Regions from separate parts of the Homo sapiens genome. Here region 2 is linked to region 1. Evidence: promoter capture Hi-C in 16 types of primary human blood cells and fetal thymus (Javierre and others, 2016). All regions are on one chromosome and are shown on one strand. Each heading gives the region's core, a stretch centred on a gene start or on the middle of the fragment in contact. The rest is flanking DNA. Distances are from core to core; before and after follow the strand shown. Region 1 holds the start of VPS36 (vacuolar protein sorting 36 homolog). Region 2 has its middle 31 kb from the start of CCDC70.

Region 1 (2,705 bases), core at 19-2,518:
AGAAGTGCTAAGGCAGTAAGTGAAGTTAGGTCCAAGCAAATTATTTAAGGAAAAGACCTTTACTCACTAATACAGGCAACACAGCCCATAGAAAATGCCCTAAGAGAGTCAGAGGACCTGGGTCCAATGTCACCTGTGCCTCTAAATAGCTGTAAGCACTTACCAGGAAAAGCTGAGTTGAGGAACTTATATCAAAGTACAGCGGAAAGTGTCGTTAATAAAACGGCAAGGGAAGAGAGGTAGCAAATTAAAACTTCTGGAAACCAAAAATGCTTGTGGGTAAATGAGTTTTAAAATTTTTCTAATTCCAGTTTATCCATTTCAATCCAGGACAAGATATTTCATAGTTTCAGTAAAGTATCTACAAAATATTTACTTACACTTCCTATTTCTCCTCTCGATTTGCAAACGCACCTTCTAAGATTTATGCTTGCACTACAAGGCACGGTCTACTATTAATATAACACTTTACAAAACACGCTCAGAACGCCTTTCTAAAGCAATTAGAAAACAAAACAAAAACCCAATAGCCTTTGGCAAGGGCATTCCAATGAAGCACTGATACCTCTTTAGGAAATCCTTTCGAAGCAATCCCTCACCCCTCTGCCCAGATATGCTAATCCCTCCGACTGCATAAGGTCCAAGCTAAAGCTTCCGCTGGGGCACGGACTGTACGGCCACCGCGCCCTCCTCACAGAAAGGCGAAACGGGGCTGTCCGGTGCCGACGCCGAGGTTGGTGTCGTCAGGGGGTCTGGAACCACGCCAAGGAAGTCGACTGCCGGATCGCCGCCCGGCGCCCGCAGACGGCGAGCGCTCCTTCTCCCGGGCACTGCAGCTGTGCGCTCCCGGAAGCATTCCGGGCGGAGGGAAGCGGCCGCGATCCGCGCCTGCTGGGAACCGTGCCAAAGTTGGGACCCGCGCTGGGGAGGCAGCCGAGCGCCCCACGCCACGTGCTACCGACCGGCGGGGAGCGCAAGAGCGCTGCACCCCGCACAGAGGCCTGCCGGGCCGCCGAGGGCCGTGAGCTAAGCCGGGGACCGGGCCGCGCCGACCCGGGCCGCGCTGAGCCGGGCCGCGCGCCCACCGGGGGTCCCTTCCGCCAGCCCGTTGGGAAGGTTGGCAGACGCCCTACCTTCTCCTCGCCATCGTAGATTCGCACCCCGCGCTGCTGGATCACCAGGGTCTCGTTGATCTCCAGGAGGCCGCTGGTCCAAACGAAGCGGTCCATGGCCGCTGCCACCCAGCCCCGGCCCTCCGAGGCCGCGAGCAGCGCGCCAGGCAGCCTGCGGCGCCCCCTAGCGTCGGACGGGACGGAAGCGAGTCGGGGCGGGTGAGGGACGGAGGGAGCGGCCTGGCAGCGAGCGGGCGCGGCTGCGAGGTGCGCCCGGGGACGTGGAGACGTGCGTGGAGCGCCCCCTGGCGGTCCATTAGCCGCCGGCCTTTCAGAACCCTTGATCAGCAGGCGGTCCACCCCATTCTAAATTCAGAGCTTACAGGGACGCGAGGGAGCCCCGACCACAGCTTGGACTTGCTTATTGTGCATTATGCCTGCATGTTTGTGGCAGTTTTCTTGTCAGTGCCCAGAATGTTGCTACATTCGCTAATGATTGTAAATAATCATAACCCCTCTCTTTCAAATGAATATTTATGGCACGCATTGTTTCTGTACAGCTGCAGTCAGTACTACCTGTGCTGCTCTTTTTTTCCCTTTAAGATTATATTGTAACACAAAGGATAAATGCTTGAGGTAACGGATACCTCATTTACCCTGATGTGATTATTATACAGTGTATGCCTGTATCAAAATATCCCATATACCCCAGAAATATATACACCTATGTACCCACACAAATTAATTTTTTTTTAACTGGGGGAAACAGATTTTATTTAACCGGGCTTGATGCGCGCGCCTGTATTCCCAGCTGCTTCCGAAGCTGAGGCGGGAGGATTGCTTGAACCCAGGAGTTTGACACCAGTGGGCGACATAGAAAGACCCTTTCCCCCTCCACCCCAACTCCCCCACGCCACTCCACTCCCCCACCCCCAGGCTCAGAAAAAAAAGATTATTTTTATTTAGGCATTTTCAATATTAATACAGACCTCATGCGTGAATTTACATTTCAATATGTAGTTCCTCTATAATTTAGCTGTTTGTTGGTCTGCGCAAAGCCATCCATGGCCGCTGCTCTCACCCACCAGGCGGCCTCGTGCCCCTAGCCATTTCATTTTTGTATTTTGCTTTATAAATGGAACACCTGGCCGGGCGCGGTGGCTCACGTTTGTAATCCCAGCACTTTGGGAGGACAAGGCGGGCGGATCACAAGTCAGGAGTTCGAGACCAGCCTGGCTAACATAGAGAAACCCTGTCTCTACTAAAAATACAAAAAATTAGCCCGGCGTGGTGGCGGGTGCCTGTAATCCCAGCTACTCGGGAAGCTGAGGCAAGAGAATCGCTTGAACCCTGGAGGTAGAGGTTGCAGTGAGCCGAGATCGCACCATTGCACTCCAGTCTGAGCGACAGAACGAGACTCTGCTTCAAAAATAATAATAATAAATAATAAATAAATAAATAAATGGAGCAGCTTATAGATGTCCTTCTACAATTGATACATATTTTTCTCTTTAGGATTATTTTCTTACAGTGTCTTCCTAAAATAGAATGACTGCTTTAAAGGTTGTGAACACATTTTAGAGAGCCTACCAC
Region 2 (2,821 bases), core at 36-2,535, 560 kb before region 1:
TATGCCCAACTGAAGCACAGCACCTTCACTTTCCCTGCTTTGTGCATTATTTTCCTCAGTGACATGACATCTGCACGAAGGATTCCGCAGGGGTGGGTTGCAGGAGAGGGACAACTACTGTTCTAGGGAAATGGAAGGAAAAAGAGGCAGGACTGTGTCTTATTCATTTTTGATTCGAACCCCTAGCTTCTAGTCCTGAGTATTTGGAAAGAGTATTTGGAGGAGGGAAGGGTGAGCTTGATCAGGATTGTTTGCCCACTGGGCAGTGGGGGTTGGAGGGGGGCAAGGGCAGTCAATAGAATGGAATTGAAAGTCAAATAAAAGCTTTGTAAGGTCAATGATTTTTTGAAAATATGTGTAAACTTGTGTTAACCAAAATTCTGAAGATCAGGTGTATTAGTAATGCTATGCGAGCTCACATTTAGGGATTTGGCTTTCTCCCAGTGGCAATACGGTCCATTTTCATACCCAGATGTGGAAGAGGTGGGGAAACAGGGCTCAGGGAGAAGAGCTGAAAGGCTCTCCTTTCCCTGCCTCATCTGAGTCTCCTGTGGCACCTGCTGACTGTGGAGAAACTCAGGAAGAGCAGGACTAGTCTCTGCCCCTCAGGGGTGGTGGGATCTGAGACTCTTGGAAGACTGGGAATCTTTTCCTGTCAACCATCAATAGATATACTGGTTTATGTTTATCGAAGCCTGGAAGTGGGAACATCTACTCCGCTGTACACAGTTTTTCATCATCATTGTCATCTCATCTCAGCCTGGAACATCTGCTGTGCCCCAAAGCATGCAGACTTGTGTGGCAGAAAAATAGGGGGCACAGGTAGGCAAGTTATCTGCTTGCTTTCAGACCCATTACCCACCTTCCCCTACTCTGCTTGGTATTGTTGGGGGATGGCTTCTGTGCCCACTTGCTTCCTGTTAGATTGAGCCAATGGAGGCATGGATGGAAGAAGAGGGAAACTTGGTAATACACCAGCTCCACCTCCCTTTCCAGTCTTTTCTTGGGCAGTGACTACATCTCTCTCTGTAGGTGACCACATTTCCTCCTTGGACCCAGCTCCATCACACAGCCTCTTCTTGGCTTCCATTTCCCATTCCCCATGATGGCCTTTCCCCCATGGTTTCAGCCATAGGGTCCTCAGGTGGCATCTCATGCAGCCCCTCCTCCACAGTTCCAGCTCACAGTTCCTGGGTCTGGTGGCTCAGTCCCCTCCCTTTGTTCCTCCGTCCTAGCAGTGGTAATGGCTTCCTGCAGTTGCTAATCTCTGGGTTGCCTCACCCTCCCCTGGTTTTATAACGTCCTTCTAACTAGCCTGCTGTATTAAATTCCGTCCACAAAACTCCCTGCCTTTCTTTACTGCACCCTGACTACAACACAAAGGTAAATGAACCTAGTAAAAGTTCTTGGCTAATTTGTTCAGCTCTTCCCATTTTCTGACAAACATCATACATCCATCCTTCATGCTCCTTGAGTTGTCTGCACACACTCCTTAAACATCCACCTGTCCTTGGCAGTAACAATGAGCTCCCTGGCAAGGACTTTGTACCAGGGCCTTCTCTCCAAGGGTTCACAGGAACAGAAGTCAAACTAAGGAGACCTTCTCAGATGGAGATTAGCTTAGTTTTCTTTCTTTGCAGTTCTCGAGTATTTGTTTAGAGGATTAGGAGAGAGCTTAAATTATATCTGTGTTTTAGCCATTTTAATTTGCCAGTATTAAATGCATCAAAAGCTCTGTCTCCCTCAGTAAAGAAGTACATGCGAAAAGCATCCCAAATTAGAAAGTCTGGGCCTTGTTTCTGTGCTGAAGTATTGTCCCTCCTTCCCTGCACCCTAATCTCAGATCCCCCTCTTCCTTTAGCTTCACCAGGACCTGCTGCTTCAGAATCACTGTGGTCCTGAGACTAATCAGGAAAAAACAGCAACAACGATGAATGTGTGTTTTTCTGGGATTCTCCCCAAAACAATGTTTACTTTAGAGGAGCTGTACAAAAATCTCTTCCCCTGGCTCACACCGTATGCGCTTCTGCTTGGCCTCTTCACATTGAGAATGTGAACATTCAAATGATCAGCATCAGCTGAAGACTCGATCACCAGGGAATGTGATCGTGCTCAGAGGAGGCCACACAGTTGCTTCTGCGTTTGGGAAAATGTTTTTTATTTAATTAATGTTATTTATTGGATAGGTGCCCAGAATTAAGGTCAGTCCTGAAAAGACTGTTTTTTAAGATGTAAAAATAATTCCAAAAGCTTGTCATCTTGTTGTGGAGAAAACAAATATAATACATGAAATCCTCAATGCAGAACTTTGTATGATTTAAATAATAACGAAGATCACAATAGTAATAAATGATGAAGACAGTAGTGCTATATGCAGAGCAAAGAAGGAAGAAGTCATCACACAGGACGGAGCCTGGAAGGCCTGAGACAGGCCAGCAAGTTTCTAATCTTCAAATTGAGACTAAATGGATACAGACACACCACACCCCCTGCATTGAAGAACTGCTTGGGGAACAAGTTTGTAGTCATCACAACTTTAGAGGTTAAAAAGTGTCAGCAACAATTCAAATCATCAAGGAGGGAGTGGGATGTATTGGGACAGATAACTGTGAAAGGACAGGGACAGAAGTGGCTGCAGGCACAACTGGATTCAGGAACTAAAGCAAAGGCATGAGTGCTCTCCAGCTCTCCACACCTCATGTGTTGGGCCTGTTCTCTCTCCCTACAGACACTCTTTCTTTGTGAGTCAGGGGACTGGGACATCAGCACAGGAAATACCAGCTTTATGCCCTCCCAGGTAATAAAAATCCAAGATAGAAGA

The links. The method cuts DNA at HindIII sites, captures the fragments that hold promoters and counts their contacts. A CHiCAGO score of 5 or more calls a contact.
Region 2: a contact is called between a fragment that was not itself captured here and the fragment with the promoter of VPS36 in region 1, in 1 of 17 cell types (M0 macrophages). The highest score is 5.2, in M0 macrophages.

The regions. Positions count from the first base shown.
Region 1 is chr13:52,449,366-52,452,070 of GRCh38, forward strand. It overlaps VPS36 (vacuolar protein sorting 36 homolog), which reads right to left and starts at 1,269. Exons shown (of 14, transcript NM_016075.4): 1 at 1,134-1,269. The coding sequence starts at 1,229. RefSeq lists an enhancer at 855-1,435 and silencers at 956-1,415, 1,456-1,515. The HindIII fragment of the contact is 2,912 bases long and covers 650-2,705 here.
Region 2 is chr13:51,891,591-51,894,411 of GRCh38, forward strand. It overlaps a transcript of TMEM272 not described here. Among named protein-coding and RNA genes, the nearest start is that of CCDC70, 31 kb to the left of the region's middle. The HindIII fragment of the contact is 1,926 bases long and covers 323-2,248 here.